4 separate regions of the Homo sapiens genome follow, and all the other regions are linked to region 4. The links are contacts of gene promoters, found by promoter capture Hi-C in blood cells and fetal thymus (Javierre and others, 2016). All regions are on one chromosome and are shown on one strand. The core of a region is centred on a gene start or on the middle of the fragment in contact, and the rest is flanking DNA. Distances in the headings are between cores, read along the strand shown. Region 1 overlaps FIRRE (firre intergenic repeating RNA element). Region 2 overlaps ATP11C (ATPase phospholipid transporting 11C (ATP11C blood group)). Region 3 holds the start of STK26 (serine/threonine kinase 26). Region 4 holds the start of MMGT1 (membrane magnesium transporter 1).

The links. Contacts are between HindIII fragments. The CHiCAGO score rates a contact against its expected background, and 5 or more counts as called.
Region 1: a contact is called between a fragment that was not itself captured here and the fragment with the promoter of MMGT1 in region 4, in 1 of 17 cell types (monocytes). The highest score is 7.3, in monocytes.
Region 2: a fragment that was not itself captured here is called in contact with the fragment with the promoter of MMGT1 in region 4 in 1 of 17 cell types (activated CD4 T cells); the score reaches 5.3 in activated CD4 T cells.
Region 3: the fragment with the promoter of STK26 here is called in contact with the fragment with the promoter of MMGT1 in region 4 in 2 of 17 cell types (non-activated CD4 T cells and naive CD4 T cells); the score reaches 5.9 in non-activated CD4 T cells.

Annotation. Positions count from the first base shown.
Region 1 is chrX:131,824,587-131,828,529 of GRCh38, reverse strand. It overlaps FIRRE (firre intergenic repeating RNA element), which reads left to right. Exons shown (of 10, transcript NR_152876.1): 2 at 3,165-3,308. Among named protein-coding and RNA genes, the nearest start is that of FIRRE, 4.1 kb to the left of the region's middle. RefSeq lists an enhancer at 1,968-2,468. The HindIII fragment of the contact is 3,457 bases long and covers 1-2,996 here.
Region 2 is chrX:139,925,613-139,929,766 of GRCh38, reverse strand. All of the region lies in intron 1 of ATP11C (ATPase phospholipid transporting 11C (ATP11C blood group)), which reads left to right. Among named protein-coding and RNA genes, the nearest start is that of MIR505, 3.5 kb to the right of the region's middle. The HindIII fragment of the contact is 3,310 bases long and covers 979-4,154 here.
Region 3 is chrX:132,021,154-132,025,454 of GRCh38, reverse strand. STK26 (serine/threonine kinase 26) reads right to left here and starts at 2,153. Exons shown (of 12, transcript NM_016542.4): 1 at 2,048-2,153; 2 at 1,796-1,947. The coding sequence starts at 1,837. RefSeq lists enhancers at 1,472-1,541, 1,511-2,058, 1,912-2,071, 2,522-2,571, 2,059-2,605 and a silencer at 2,112-2,361. The HindIII fragment of the contact is 2,994 bases long and covers 1,118-4,111 here.
Region 4 is chrX:135,970,860-135,975,331 of GRCh38, reverse strand. MMGT1 (membrane magnesium transporter 1) reads left to right here and starts at 1,344. Exons shown (of 4, transcript NM_173470.3): 1 at 1,344-1,735; 2 at 4,222-4,274. The coding sequence starts at 1,657. It also overlaps a transcript of SLC9A6 not described here. RefSeq lists a silencer at 1,146-1,255 and an enhancer at 1,266-1,795. The HindIII fragment of the contact is 2,640 bases long and covers 61-2,700 here.

The sequences.
Region 1 (3,943 bases), core at 19-2,518, 4.1 Mb after region 4:
GAGCAGACCTACAAAGCTATGGTAGAGTGGAAATGGGCATTTTTTTGTTTTTTTAAATTTTATTATTATTATACTTTAAGTTTTAGGGTACATGTGCACAATGAGCAGGTTAGTTACATATGTATACATGTGCCATGCTGGTGTGCTGCACCCATTAACTCGTCATTTAGCATTAGGTATATCTCCTAATGCTATCGGAAATGGGATTCTTTAAACAAAGTATGGCTGATGAAACTGGGTGGTATAGGCTTCAGTCTGAGTTCAGAGGGAAACCAGGAGCAAAAGTAAATTCGAAAGAGCAGATTTTCCCCAAACAGGGCCAATAGCAAGGCAGCTTTGTTTCCTGTCTCCTTTGTCTTGGTAGCTTTTTTCAGATTGAATGGGTGAGAGGAGAAGGGCTCTGGGGGTGGGGTGCCCAGGCAAGGCTAATCAGCTTTTCCAGAGCAATACTGCCATCAAGAGGATGTAGTTTGACAAAACACAAACCCAAAGTTGTTAGAGCCCCCCCAAGTTTTAGCAACTGAGAAATGTTGGGCCTTTTGTGAGGTTGAGTGGACCCTAGCCCTAAGTAGGTCCCCTTCACTTTAAATCTGAAGCCTTCCAGGAGCTCTGGACAAAGGCAGGATCCTGGGGGAGAAGCTGATAAGTGGGGGGTCAGGGGGAGGACTGAAGGGACAGCTACTAGGCAGGTGGAGTATAGGAAGTATTGGGGCTTAGATATCTACCCAGTGAGGGTGGGGCTAAAACAAATGGCTCAGATCCTATTTGGGGGGACTTCTGGCCACATATCCTCTGGCCATGCCCTTTGAACAATGAGGTAGGGGGTTGGCACAAGGTGTAAGCAATGTTAGGGTGCAGATGAAACATCTCATTCCAGATGATATCTAACAGCAGCCAGCGTGCTTTCTGGGGGTCTCAAGGATACCTAAAAGTCTGGTGCCCCCATTGCCTAGAGCAAGGAAGACCTGAGGAGAAGGCAGTGTGTGTCACTTGGCCAAGCCAATAAATCCTTGAACATCAATAGGAGTGCAGATATACACAACCAGAAGACCTGGAAGTATTTTCTGAAGCCAGGAGGTAACAGCTACCATGGCTTTGCAGCACTTTTTCTAGGGCCCAGTGTGAAGGCCTACCTATTTAGAGAAACCTACTCTTAGCTCTATTAAAGGAACAGAAATGAGTTCTTTAGCTATTGGCCTTCCCCTAAGGAAGATGAGGCCATTGAGACTTGGGACCTAACTGTTCATTCAGATTAGCAAGTATTGTTCTCTGTGCCTGCTTCTTAGCCTTTTTCTAATGAAGATTCCTTGTAAGCCCTCTAAAAGCTGAGCACATCAGGACCCTCAGGACACTTGCCCATAGCATAGCAAGAAAAGGCAAAAATTTTGTAAGATTGACTGCATGTGAGAGTTTTCTCGTGTATCAGTGATGGATTCAGTGGCTGACCACTTACAGAAGAGAAAGGAATGTTATTCTCATGCACTGCTGTAACATATGGTCACCACCTGAATTCTACTTGCCCAGGGTGGAGCTATAACATCTACTAGGAAGTTTTTAGCAACTACTACAAAGACCATAGGGTCCCTGGGGAAATTGACTTTCCTGCTATTCATGCCTTGGTCTAGCTGTCCTTGAGGATGTTATAGGTTGACATGAGCCAAGAAGGGTTTGAAAACATTTGAGAAAGCATGTCTCAATGGTCTCAAATACCTTATGAAAGTGTAAGGTGACCTCTGACCTTTTCAGCCTACTTCAGCTAAGCAGGTGACTGAGAGAAACCCTGCATCAGATGGGTTAGGCTGCCTGCTGTTGAGTCACAGTTTGACTTGACCATATGCTAGACTAGGAAAGCCAGATGTGTGGAGACAGTGCACCATAACTTAACTTAGAATTGTGAGTGACAGAGAGGTAGCCCCAGCCCTAGAATTCCTCAGGGTCAGGAATTTTGTATTCCCACACATTTTGGTTTACATTAAGAGACTATCTGGTCAGAGAGTGGATAGAGGCCTAAAGCAGCAGCAACTTGCTGAGTCCCAGGAATTCAAACGTGACACCGTGACCAGGAATGGGAGATTATAACTATTGCCAACTCTCAATACCACTCAATCATTGACAGTCAGCTCAGATCAAAAGCTGTTTCAAAATGTAGTTAAAAAGAAAACCACTCAGCAGGAAAGATGGCAAAGGAATAAGGCACCTCTATTATCACAGTCTCAAATTCACCAGTACTGAAGTAAATTGCAGTTCACTGTATTCTTCCATAATGCCCTTAAATCTTCATCATAACCCCGAGCAAGCCTTTGAAAAGGAATCCATTGATGTCAGTGTTTGTGTAATGATTTGTAGAATTGGACAAGGTCCTACCAGGTGAGAAGCACTGTTAATTGGTACACCTCTTTGAAGGTCAACAGGCCAAATCATTTAACCTTTCACATGAGCATACCCTTTGTCCAGAGACTACCTCTTGAAAGTGATCGCACAGCCAAACTCCCACAGGAAAGTAGAAAGGAGAGGACAAAGAGGATCGCTGAGATTTCTTTTGCAAGGATGGCGGTGGGGAGGGGGCAAAACATCCATTGTCCAAGTTCAACTACAGTAAGTTCAGCTATAGTAGGTAGTCTTTTTAAGCCTTTGGAAAGATTGAAATCCATTCGCCAAGTCCTCAATAGGGGAGATGACCACACCTCTGATTTAGGGAAGAAAATGTGAAATGTTGTAACGGGAATCAAACCATTCTGGTTGGCTAATAGCAAGGAAATAGAAATGAAAGATGAAGTCTTTCTTTCTCTCTTAATTACATATGTTATTAATTCAAGTTGAACACATAAACCTATTGGTTCAGAAAAGCAAATAGGCAGAAAGGAAGTTATCTGGAAAGTTCCCCAGTCAAGCAACTAACAGTGTGTAATTTTCTACAGTGATGTTTCTAATGACTTGCCTTCACGTTTTAACTTACACTTGTCCAAAGCCTTGAAATGTTGAAAATGAGAAAAGCTTACATTTGCAAGTTTTTTAAAAATCAAGAAACCAGCATCATCTCAATATATAATTAGGAAAACAACATATTACAAGATGTATTTTTCTTTAAAACATACACACTTCTACACACATGCAAGATTTAAAGGCTCTATTCTGAAATTCTATTTCCAAATTTTACTTAACAGAAAATCCAGCTTTCTGAAGCATATTTCACGACATATGATGAGACTTATGTGATGTGAGACCTGAGAAAACTATGATAGAAAGAAGCAACTCAAGTTGCAAGGATATTCCTCATGTATCATGCAAGGATATTCCTCATATATCATGTAAGTAAAAAGTCACCAAATCCTGACAACCTGTCCACATGTGCCCACACATGTACAATTATATAATAAAAAGAGCAGAATGCAATATAACAAACATCAATGGAATATCTATTAAACTTCTTAAGAGTATCATTTCTTTACTGCTATATATTTGTTCCACTTACTGATTTTTTTCCAGATGCATATAATTCTTACGGTTTGATCAACAGTAAAAGAATGCTATGAGATTTAACCATAAAAAACTATCTTGTTCCTCAAGAAAAGTTAATGATATTGGAGAGTACTCATTTTCTAGTGTTGAATTGAGAATTCAGGGCACCAAATTCTATGTGTAGTGGGACCAATGAGGATGGATTTGAAGAAAAGAAATGGAAGTGTGTGTGTGTGTGTGTGTGTGTGTGTGTGTGTGTGTGTGTGCGCGCGCGCGCGCGCCTAGCATTGTGCTGAGGAATGTGGGGAGTATATTAATGAGATATAGATTAAATTTATTTCACTGAATAACATCAGTTCTTATTGAACAGTTATATATCATTTTTTTAATGTTTAAACCAATATACTCATCAAGCTGCTAATAGTGGATGCCTCAAAAAAGTGGGATTTGTGATAAAGTGTTTCCATTTGTTCTTCATAGATTG
Region 2 (4,154 bases), core at 1,384-3,883, 4.0 Mb before region 4:
GTGGAACTTTGAGACTTTCACAGCAGTATAGATGTAGTCAAGGTTGTGAGTTGTCTTATGATTGTTTTAATATTTTAGAAATAGAGCTATGAATTCCTTTCAAAATGAGTTGTTTTTTTAGTGTACCTGTACGTGTCTGATATTGGTTTTGATTGTGAAATAAATTACAGTGGTGTTGATTGTAGTTGTTGGTTATTGAAAACTAGACTACATATTAGAGAAGTGCTTCCTTTATATTTTAAACCTGACGTGGAAGAATCCCTTAGGATTCTTACAAGCATCATCTTCTATAGCTCAGTTGTGTTTGCTGAATCATTTTTGAAATGCCATTTATTTTTCGAGTTTTCCAATTTCAAGCTAAAAGAAAATAGTGATTCATTGTATTTTTTTAAATACATGGTCTTGACTTCTTTGCCATTAATAACTGTGTTCCTTTCTTTCTGATGAATTATGACTTTCCTTTTGACAGTTTTGAGGTGGAAAGAAATTGGTGGATTTGGTGTATAGCATTTTAGGGTTGAGGCATGTAGAGGGTGTCCTAAAGGATTTAAGAGTTGGATGTCTCTGAGTGCAATAAAAGCACCACCTGTTCTCAAGTCAACATCTCCATAAATACAGTAAATAAGTAATAATAACTCTGTCTGTACAATTTATTTTCTTCAAAGGCATATTTAATCAGAAGTCTGGACTAGTTGAGATTTAAGGGTCATGGACTTTTATGTTATCCTGTCTTGTTTTATTCTTAATGCAATTCCTAGTGACTATAGTAACGTGTTCTCTTGGGTTTAAAGATTTATTGAAAGTCTAAAAACAATTCCCCCCTCTTTTTGGCTTATGAAATTATTTTATACTAAAGATTCAAAATAAGAGATTTCTTGATAAAGTAGGTTGGGGGCTTGGTCAAGAGGATGCTGTCAGTTTAGCTTGTCAGTGATAGTTAACAGGTATGCATTTCTAGACCTTTGATACATGAAAGCTTAATTGTGAGTGTGAAATACTGGAGTACATTTAAATCTCTGATTCTAGAAGCCCTTAAACTGCTTTGGTTTCATAAAGCATGTAGCATATAATCATAATATCACACAGAAGATGCCCAGGACTAGGAAGAAATTAGACTGCATAAGGAAGAATGGAAATTTAAAATAAGACTAAAAAATACAAAATAAGAATTAATGAAATAGGTAGCTAATTTATTGCTTTGAGTCCAAGGCAAGGCTAGTCTAATGAAGCAATATATGGAGGCAATTAAGAAAATAGTTCAGGTAATTGCTTTGTTTTTTCCCCAGGAGCAAGAAGGTTTTTAGTTTCCCCTTTAAACTATCAGAGTAATTAAACATTTTTTTTTTTCTGTTTCACTTTACTAATAATCCTGGCCTGACATTGACGAGCGGGAAAATATTGATTTTATTTTACTGTGTTTAGAAATATATCTGTATGTATGTATTGCAATATTTTTACATTTGCACAACTATTACAAATGGTCTGTGTATCTCGGCTCCCACATGGCTGTTCATAGAGGTCTAGGTTTAGCAGTTGAACTTGACCATACTTAAAAGCAACTTTTTTTTTTTAAATCATATTGTGTTATAATTGCCTTTTAACTTGTATGGCTCCCTAGTCTTTCTCAACATGGAGAGAATTGGCACTGATGCCCTAGGACATGCATTGTTAGTAATAAATTAACATTTTCCTGCGCAGCTGGAGTGAAGGAACCCTAATTGAGAAAGGCTGTCCTAGACAGGGACAGTTCACAGTGTGTTCTTAGCTCCTAGCACAGTGCCTGGTCCCTAGTAGGTGTTCAGTAAAATATTTTTTGAAAGAACAACTTTTGTATGTATCCCATAAATAATAACCTTTACTTACAGATAGTGATTATTGTAAACCCGCTCTTATGCAGAATGAGCAAAGAATGAGTTCTTGTTAGTTGGGGTATACCGTATACATTACTAGTATTCTAAGAATTAGAATAAATACATCTAATGCCGAAAGCTATACTGACCATAGTATAATCTTTTTTTTTTTCCTTTTTTTTGAGATTTATTATGGGAATTGGATCATGCAGTTACAGAGGCTGAGAAGTCCCAGGATCTGCCATCTGCATGAGCCCGGCCACAAAATATCCCCTTCTTTTATTTATTTTTATTTTTATTGTTATTTTTTTTGAGACAGAGTCTTACTCTTGTCATCCAGGCTGGAGTGCAATGGCACGATCTTGGCTCACTGCAACCTCCGCCTCACGAGTTCAAGCGATTCTCCTGCCTCAGCCCCCCTAGTAGCTGGGATTACAGGCGCCTGCCACCACGCCTGGCTAATTTTTTGTATTTTTTAGTAGAAACGGGGTTTCACCATGTTGGCCAGGCTAGTCTCGAGCTCTTGACCTCAGGCGATTTCCCTACCTCGGCCTCCCAAAGTGCTGGAATTACAGGCAAGAGCCAGCATGCCTGGCCTCTTTCTTAGATGATTAAGGCATTGTATGGTTTTGCAGAGCAATTATCATTCAGCAAATATTCACTGAGCACCTACTATGTGCTGGGCACTGCAGTCAATCCTGGGGTCGTAGATGAGCAAGACAGACAAGGTTCCTGTCTTCCTGAGCTGTAATTATCATTACATACACAACTATAGATATAGAGGGCATGGTAACTGCATTGCATTGAATACATTTGTGACATACCATGAAATTTGATCTTTGTGAATAAGTTACTATTACATACTTGTCATTTTTCTTTCTACTAAAAATAGATTGTACAATATCAGTTATTTTCTGGTTGTTTGGATGTCAGTTAAAAAGGAGTTTCTTGCATTTGTCTCCTTTCATCTGACCTACGCATGGCAAACTGCTCTTTTGCAAATAGATGCTAGGCTGACCCCACGCAAGGTGGGAAACTTATTTAGAAATGAACCACTGTAACTTGAAATAAATCTTTACACAAGTGAAAGCAGGTTTTGTCTTCTTTTTTCCTGATCTACCTTTTAGTGACTAAGCAACATAAAACTCTGAATGTGTCCTGAATACTTTCTGTAAGTGTTTACTGTTTGTTCCTTTTGTTTATGCTTATTGCTAATAATTCAGCCATTTAGTGAGTAATATTGAGTGCCTATATACCAGGTAGTTTCCAGTGTTCCTAATTAACTTTTAGCTGAATTGAGATTTGGGCAGGTGAAGCTGGCCATTTTTATATTGATGCAACTGTTCAAAAGAGCTTGTTTTTTCAAAAAGCTGCCAGTTTACCACCTGCTGAGCAGTGGGTTCTAGGAGGTAAAGGATGGCCAGTGGCCCCTGAAAGAACCATAACTAACCTTGCTGTGTCTGCATGATGTGCAAAGAACTAGCCCACTGAGTGAAATCAAATACTGGTTTGTTGAGTGATGGAAAAAATCAAGGCTCATTGCTTGTCTAACATGGTTATTCAGTTCTCTCAAAGAGGGTGAATGCATGGGATATAAAAAAAAAATACTATTTTTTTCTTCAAGGTGGTGGAATTTCCTGTACATCTGTAGTGCTTTATACAGATGAACCTTTTACATCTGGAACCCTCGAGACTGGGGGAGTTTTTCTGGTTAGGTGGAGGGAGGTTCTGGGCTTCCACAAATGAATTAGGTGCTGGCTCTCGAGTTTATTTCCTTTCACTTAACATTTACCTTCTTGGCCTGGTATAAGGGTAGATTAGCGGTGATCGTAAAACAAAACATACTGGCACAACTGCAGCATATGTTAACACTGCTGCAGCTTAATGATGAATGAGTGCTCAGCACTGCAGATATGGGCACAGGATGCCCTATGCCCACACATTGGCAGACAGCCCCTCAATTATTGCAGTGTATGGACGGATTACTGGGTCGGCTGACTTCTTGATAATAGAAGATGTGATTTATAAATGATAATGGACCGTGGATTTCCAGATTTAGAAGGTTAACCTGTATTTGTGAAGTAGAAATCATTGATTTCTTGTGCCATATGTATTTAATGGAATATGGGAGGATTGGTGATGTTGATGATATTGCTGTTCAAGCAGATATCATCATTTGTTTTTTAGACGTCTCTATTATATGTTGTCATAAAGTATTAATGTGGCAATGTTTTCCTAGTCCCTTTCTCTTTACCAAGGTATTCTTGGAAAAATCAGAAGTGTTCTTGAAAATGATCTTGCAGT
Region 3 (4,301 bases), core at 904-3,403, 4.0 Mb after region 4:
GCAATCAGAAATACTGAACAGCAAGCAGTTCCTAAACCATATAAATTCAATAAGTTCAAGACAAATAAAATAAAAATCAGAAACCATTTTCCCCTCAGCACACAGAGTTCCCCAGAATCACAAACTTGATGAACTGGAGGCACTCACTCTGCTGACGCACACACGCAGGCTCGCGCACACAATGGAGCGAGAAGCATGGAGACCCTCAGAGACAAACTTCACATGTGCATCGTTTTACTCTCCACAGAATGGAAAGAAGAGCACGGTGAGAAAATGTCACTTTTTCCCAGATCAAACAGCAAAACTGTACTTAGTATTGTGAACTATGAATTCCCTTGATACAATCAAAGGCAGAACTGAATGAATGGGGTGTGGGGCAGGGTGCGTGGGGAAAAGAAGGAGGGAAGGAGAGGGGAGGCCGCCTGAGAGGAAGAAAGTTTAAGGCATTTTGCAAGGCTTGAGTGGATTAATCTTTTTTTTTAAGCCCTACTATTTCCTATTTCCCTTTCTCTCTCTCTCTTTATTTAATATACACTAACTTCCTGAGACTCAACCCAGACTTGCCCTAAATGCAGCTGAAATGTCTGGTGTTTAGGACACACCAAGAGTTCTAGGTGCACAAATAAATCCCATTTTGGGAAAGAATTTAAAAATCACTTTTGTGGACATTCATAAAATGAGAACACTGAAAAAAAAAAAAAAACTCCATGTATCAATAAGTAAATTGAGGCCCCAGTCTACAGCTCTTTGATTTCTACTAGAAATATAAGCTATTTACTATAAACATTTTATTTTTGAACTTCAAAAAAGTTTGTTTTCACATTTTAGATCATGAAAGACTGAGGCTTCAGTGGTTTTAGCCCCTAAATGGGTTGTTTAGGCCATCTAGCAAAGGAAAAAAAAATAGAACATGAATGCTTTAAAAAGTTAGTAAATTTGGATAACACTTAGCAGATAGCCTAAAATGCACCGATTTAAAAACATAACAGCATAAAAAGTTTTCTGACATAGCTTATCTTTAATAAAATGAAAATATAATGGGAGGGGGTTGGGCTGGGTAGACTTCGAGTAACAAGTTGGGTCCCATGCAGTAGTCCCTTGTCCAAGACAAAAAGCTTCCTTTAACCACATGTAACAGTCATCTTGTGGGAAAGGCACGGAGGGGGCTGAGAAGTCATCACCTCAGTGACTCTGAACAGAACCAGCATTTCTCACGCCACACTATGGGCTGGGCTAGGTCGGGGAGCAAGCTACAACTTTGCCCTTAAGCAGCAGTACCGAAAGGGAGAAAGAGGTCACCTCTCTCTTAGCCCTACGCACACAGGAAGAGCCCAATTCAAGCCGCCGCCGCCGCCACCCCTGGTGTTGCCCCGCCCCAACTTGAGTGTGTGTTTGGGGTGGGGGGTGTAGGGCACTCACTACTCGCGTTATACCCCACAAATTCCAAGGCACTTCCATCTCTCCCAGGTTAAGTTCCGCCCCCCCATCCCCAACCGTGCCAAGCTCAGCAGGCGCAGGTGTCTGTGGCTCTGGCCTATTTTTATACCCCCAACCGCCCTCAATCTCCACCTAGTTGCGCGCTCCAGTCCCGCCTCGCCTTCCCAGCGAAGAGCACTACCTAGCCTACACACCAGGAAACACCTCCAGCCCTACTCCCAGGTCACCTGGCCATAGTGACCGGCCCTGCCCTCAGGGGAGCCCTGGGGCCGTCCCTTGTCGCCGGTGCCCAGCACCGAGGGCGCACCGGGCTCCCAAGCAGTCACGTGGGCGGCGGGGGCGGCCTGCGCTTCCTCACCTGCATCCCAGGCACTTGGACAGCCACCGGCGAGTGGGCCATGGAGGCGAATGCTGCCTCGCTCCGCTTCTGCGGCGGTGGCGCCTTGGGTTCGGACTGGCTCCTCCCTCCGGGGGTAGTTCGGCGGCCCTCCCAGGCTTTTCGATCGGGGCCTGGGAGGACACACAAAAGTGGGGTTACTGGGCTGGCGGCGCGTAGCCCGGGGCTAGGAGGTGGGCTGTTAGCGGCGCAGCTCCCTGGGACTCAGTCTACCTTTCTGGCGCCCGCCCGCCGCTGAAGCAGCCGCCTCCGCTGCTGCTCCTCTTCCTGAACGCCGAGCGCTGTGAGTGGTGGTGGCTGGGACCTGGGCTCGAGTGATGCCGCTCCTCTGCGCCTCGCCGCTTTAGGAAGAGGAGGTGGAGGCGCCCCAGCCACCCGCCTGCTCGCCTGGCCTGGGAGGCGGTTGGGGGCGGTTCCGCCGTTGGCCCTGCCCCCGCCCCGCAGCCGGGCGGTGTCGCGGGAGCCAAGGCTCCAGGCAGCGAAGAGGTTTGGCTGGGGTTGCTGGAGTCTGAGAAGCTGGAGACTCTCCCGGCACGCGGAGAGGAGAACCCGGGGACCCGGAGACCTGGGACATGGCTGGGCCTGGGAAGAGAATGGAAGAGTTTGGGAAACCCTGAGGGTATGAGGGCGCCCCAGATGCGGCCACGTTGCAGGGAGGCGTGCGAGGCTGGGGCACACGCAGCCTCGGAGACGACTTGAGCTGAAACTTGGGGAGTGTTGGAAGTCTTTCTTGGCTCCCCGGCCTGGCCAAGGGTAGGATTACAGATAGCCGCGGAGTCGGTGGACCCCCGCTTTTTCCCGCCATCTGGTCTCCTCAGCTGGGGGTCGCGCCTCTGGGCAGATCTGTGGCCACACTCTTGCTTTCCGAGTTCCCTGACCCCAAACATGCTTCAGGTGACTTCAACTTAAGGTTCCCCCTACCTCCTGGGCTATCCCTTGCAGAACGGCCAAACTAGGGCTTCTCTCTACCACAAGTTCTGCACGTGTAAGGCAGAGGGAAATTGGAAAACAGATGGTACATCGGCAGAAAAATTAATGAGGATAGTAGAGGCTTGGGAAATGAGATTGGATCGTTAGCAGTACAGGTTATTGAAATCAGCATACACTGCAGTGGTTTTGGTAACTCCCTGCCTCCGCCCCATTTTAAGTTCTACTCCAGGAGAGGGAGACAGGCTCTTTTGAGAGTACTCTAACAGTAGCGACAGTAACACTGGTAATAATAGTAACAGGAATTTCATTATGAAGGCACCTTTGGGAACACGTAAGGGGTTAATTACTTTTTAAAAAAGTAATAGTCGAGTGCCAGTTTAAAATGAAGATGAAGTTCCTTACCTTGAAATTTGTTATGGGTCTCTACGCACCACACGGTGGGGGGCCTCTAGTGGTAAAAGATAGTTTCTCTTCTTCCTTTTAAATCTTTTTCAGAGAATAGTATATAATTCTTATCAATATCGTTATTATTAATGGATATTATTTTCATTGTGCCAGGGACTGCTAAGTGCTTTCTATGTGTTATTAATACCTTACTGAACCTGTACAAGGGCCTTCTGGAGTCTTATTGATTTCCCCTCATTTTACAGATGAAGAAAAAGGCTCAACCAGGTTAAATAATTTGACCGAAATGTCACGCAATTAAGAAGTGGTACAGCTGGGAATTCAGACGCAGGTCCCTCTGACTGGTGATAAACTTACTACTTTCTCTATGGTTTCTGTTTGTGTTTAATGATGATAAAAGGTACAATTGCATTTTCCTTACTCCTAGTTCCCCAAGTCCAGCCCTTCACTATTTCTAACCTAATGTTAGGCTCCAATCTAGTCTCGATTTCCCACCAACCCAGCTCACAACATTGCCAGCCTGACCGGAAACCTGCAGTGCCACCTAAACTTTTAATGTCCATAGAAATCCGAGGGTTCTTTTGCTCCCTCAAAAGCGCAGATTTTTATCTCCCATGTCTGGACTGGGCCCAAGATTCTGCAATGCTAACAAGCTCTCACATGGTGATGATGTTTAGATCACACTTTTAAGTCGCAAGGGTCTGAATCAAGCTCCATCATTTAAGACCTGTCTCAAATCTCACCTCCATTGACCCTTCCTAGTTGCTCCAAGCCCTCCTTCAAACTCCTCCAATGTGAGCAGCGCTCACACTGTAGTTCTTTCTTCTTATTTCATATATTTCATTTGTTTTGTGTGCCCATATTAGGTCCTTGAGGGCAGAGATCCAGCCTCTCTTACATGAGAATGATTCAGGTAGGATGGCAGGAGTCTGAGGGCAAGCTTTTTATACATTTTGTCCATTGCTGTATCCCCAGAGACTAGGTTCATGGCATGTAGTAGGCCCTCAATAAATAATTGTTGAATGAATGAATGAACTTCTTTTGAATTCTCCACTGAGGTTACTAGGTGCATAATGTATACACTATATATTTTATTGATGTCAGGTTAAACCCCTAGGCATTGCCCTTACTG
Region 4 (4,472 bases), core at 95-2,594:
AAAGGAAAAGAATGGTGATCATACTTTGCATTTACCTTGTGATATGCAGTTTACAAAGCTTTGCCACTCAGTCAGGGGTCACTGGAGGAACTGGTGCAGAATTTGGAAAAAAAGGATGAATTCCATTTTAGCCATATTACGTTTTAAGTGCCACAGGAAATAAATGCCTATCTGGTAGTCAGAAATGCAGCCCTGGAGCTAAGGAGAGATATTTGTGATAGAGATGTCGATTTGGAATCACTGTAATACCTTTGCTGGCTGAAGCGGTGGGAATGAATGGGTGAGCTCCCCAGGGGACAGCAGAGTGATGAGGTCAAGGGGAGAAGCTCACTATTAAATGTCTACATTTCAGGAGATGAAGACAAAGAAAAATGGGCAGAGGAGTATACATTTTACCCGGATCAGAGATAGAGACAAGGCAAGAAGGCTGCGTTATTAGCATTTTAAAATTTCCTCTTTCATTTCTTCCTTAATGTAAGCTGGTTCTTTTCACGACAAAACACTCCCCCCGCGCTACACCTCTTTTTGCGCGAATCTTTCTCCAGGACCTTAAAATGGTTTACTGAGCACTTCCCGCGAGCCAAGTATTTGGGGTTCCAGATCCTGGGATTTTGTCCTGACACTGCCTCCTCGTTTTAACACCCTTGCCTCCTTCTGCAGTGCCAGTTTCCAGGGAGCTGAAGCACAGGAAAGGCCTACAGAAAACAAAAGGCACAGTTTCACAAAAAGCCAAAACCAACCAACCCACAAAACACAACTGTCAGGGGTCTATATCCAGCACCTACCGCCTTTCCCCAACGCCCCCAGCCCCGCCCCTCGGCCCCACCTCCTCCCGCCCCTCGGCCCCACCTCCTCCCCGCCCCCTCGGTCCCACTCCTCCGCGCCCCCTCGGTCCCACCTCCTCCCCGCCCCTCGGTCCCACCTCCTCCCCGCCCCCTCGGCCCTCACCCACTCTCCGTCCCCTCCGCCCCGCCCCCTACGCCCCACCCATCCTCCCGTAGGCCCCGCCCTCGGCCCCACCTCCTCCCCGCCCCTCGGCCCCACCTCCTCCCCGCCCCTCGGCCCCACCTCCTCCCCGCCCCTCGGCCCCACCCATCCTCCCCGCAGGCCCCGCCACTCGACCGCACCCACCAGGGCCCCCCCCCCCCGGCTACGCCCACCCACCCACCCACTGGCCCCGCCCCTCGGCTACACCCACCCTCGTGCGGGCCCCGCGCGTCTTCCCCACCCCGCCCGTCTGCCTACCCCGCCCCTCGCCCCCACACGTTCTCTACGCAGGCCCCCGTCCCTCTGCCCCACCCTGTTCTCGCCACTGGCCCTGCCCCCATTTGCCGGCGCCCTTCCTCTTCGCTTCCCCGTAGCTCCCGCTTTCGCCTCTTCGTTTATGACTCCGTTGGGCTCCGGCCCTCCTAGAGAGGCCTCCATAGCGCAGGTTCGTGGGTTCTCGCGGACCTTTTTCCGTGTAGCTTTCTGCTTCTTCCCGGCATTCCTGTTTCCGTTTTCTCACAGCCCTCTGGCTTTTCCACCACTGAGACACTTTGCGCTCAGGACTTCAGTGACGTCATCTTTCTGCGGCGCGCGGACACCCGCCGGTGGAAGAAGAAACAGCTCCGCCGTCCTTCGCTTCTTTTGCTGGGCTGCTGCTCCTTCGGCATCATGGCGCCGTCGCTGTGGAAGGGGCTGGTGGGCATCGGTCTCTTTGCCCTAGCCCACGCCGCCTTTTCCGCTGCGCAGCGTAAGTGCCTGGGGCACGGGGACCGCTTCGGTGTGGAACCCTAGGGGCGGTGTGTGGGCGCACTTCTAAGGGACCATCGGACCGAGTGTCAGATTAATGGTCCTTTGAGACCTTACAGTTTGGGGTGACTAAGAAAATCAGTGCAGGAGTTCCCAGTGGAAGGTTCGGAGTTTGAATTTGGAGAGAGTGTGGCACCTGAAATTGCAGGAAGGTTGGAAGGAGGTGTCTGGGAGAGGGTTCAGAATAGGAGTCTCCAGGAATCCAGGACAAGTGATGTCAGATCCAGCATGGGGCAGATCAGGCACAGTTGTGAGATTGAGGACTCTGGTTGCTCATGGTCCCACGACAACCAAGTGGACAACATCTTGGGCACTCTTGGGCTGTCCAGGCAGAGACTGAGTAGTTAAGTGACCGATTGCCTCAGGGAGGCACTGTGGTACAGGAGAAAGAGCACTGGACTGGGAGTCTAAAGGACTGGTTGTTAAAAACTTGCATTACCGCTACATCTGTGTGACGTTGGGCAAAAGATTTGTGCTACACTGCGTTATGAAATTCAGTTTTGGGTCGCTGTTTGAAATTGCGCTGTGTTTAGGTGCTAGAGATACAGTGATGCCCTGAGCCAGTTCAAAGTCTAAAGGAAAACAAGTGGATCAAGAAGTAGTTACAATAAAGTGATATGCTAAAAGTATATAAGGATGCATGGAAGCAGGGACAGTCATATTTTGGGGGAACTGGGAGGTTAAGGAAAGTATCCTAGATCCTTGCTGCTTACAGTGTGATCAACAGACCAGCATCATGAGCACCACCTGGCAGGTAATTAGAAGATACTCAGGCCAGACCTGTTCAATCAGAATCTGGGTTTTAATAAGATCCCAGGGTGATTTGTATGCGCATTAGTTTGAGAAACACTGTCCTGGAAGAGATTAGGATACACTGGAGTACTGTGTCATTTTCTACAGTAAGCTTTAACTGTAGAATTATATGATTGTGGGGCGAGAAGGGCCTTTGGAGTTCACTGAAGTCCAACCCCTTCATTTTACAGATGAGGAAATTCCTGGTTAAAGGTAGTGTTAGAAGCAGGCGAGGCTTCATGCAAACTAGCAAGCTAGCTAGGAATTGAACCAGATAGGAGATTAGTCAAAATCGATTTTTGGTGTTGGTTTGATGTTTCTTTTACACTTGTCTTTATGACAGAGCTGTAGGTTAAAACTTAAGAAATGTCTCTAAACACATTCTTCTTCAAGAGTCAATACACATGCACTCAAAAACAGTTTGAATTATTTAGTCCAAAGTACGTTATTAAATAGGGATTGTCCTAGGTTCATCTAGAATTAAGATTTTTGTATTTTATGTTTTGGGTGATGAGAATGCCTTGTGGATTTGCCACTGCAGTGAGACCTCTTTATATATAATGCTCATGTTAGGGAGAGAGTAATATGTAACTTTAAGACTAAGTGTGTCATGTCAGACTGTAGCAGCAGATAGCACAATGTGGTGCTGTGGCATGCTCATCTTTGCTGTAATGAACTTTGTTACAGTAGGGCACCAGTCATTTACTGTATCTTGTTTAATCCTCACCTCACATTATTCTCATTTTACTGTTGTGGAAATTCAGGTAATGAAAAAAATAGATACTGTATTTCTTTGATTCTAAGACACCCACCATTTTAACACTCTGAACTTGAGATATGTATTATGATCACTGCGGGCTTCTTTAATTAAATGAAATTATAGTAAATTGAAGAGCTGGCACTGATTTAGGCTTACCAGTTTCCAAATCCTGATCCTTTTCTTTTATCCCTTGCTGCCTCCTGAGGTTAAGGCAGCAGCAGCGGAATTATAATTAACTAGTAGAGGCAGAAATTGATTTCATGGAATTCCTATTCCACCACTGCCCCAGCGTATCCTCTCAGGAGAACCATTTCCATACCAGTATTATTTTGTCCATACTGTGTGGTTGGTGGTGGTGCTATTTCAGAGTTGAGATTTTCTGTAGACTTTACTTTTTAAATAATTGTGATTTCTTTGGCGAGTTAGTGAAAGTAACGGTTTTGAGAAGTTTCTAGTATTTCTATAATAATGAAAGAAAAATTATACTAAGGTATTTCTGCCTCATACTTGCTCACTTGTCACTCTTACCCATTTTATAAGGTGACAAAGCAGGTCATGATGAAAATAAAATAGTTGACTAAGATAGAGCTGACTACCTTAGAAGATAGAAGGTTTTGAGGAATCCAGGATTAGCATTACTTTATGTAGCATATAAGTCAGCCACTTCTTTTTTTATTTTTTATTTTATTTTATTATTATTATACTTTAAGTTTTAGGGTACATGTGCACAATGTGCAGGTTAGTTACATATGTATACATGTGCCATGCTGGTGTGCTGCACATAAGTCAGCCACTTCTTTGGTATATTGATTTGCTTCATTTTAAGAAAGAAAAATGAACTACAGTTTCCTTAATGGTATGCTTCTGGTTTATAGATCGTTCTTATATGCGATTAACAGAAAAAGAAGATGAATCACTGCCAATAGATGTAAGTTGGTCATTTATATTCCGTTACATGTATGTTTAAAATCAGCCACATAGCTTGTAATAATTTTTTTTTTACTGGTTTTTCGTAAAATTTTTCAGACATGAAATAAAATCTGATCTCCACTTTTCTTTTCTTTTCTTTTCTCTTTTGAGACGGAGTCTCACTCTGTCACCCAGGCTGGAGTGCAGTGGCCTGATC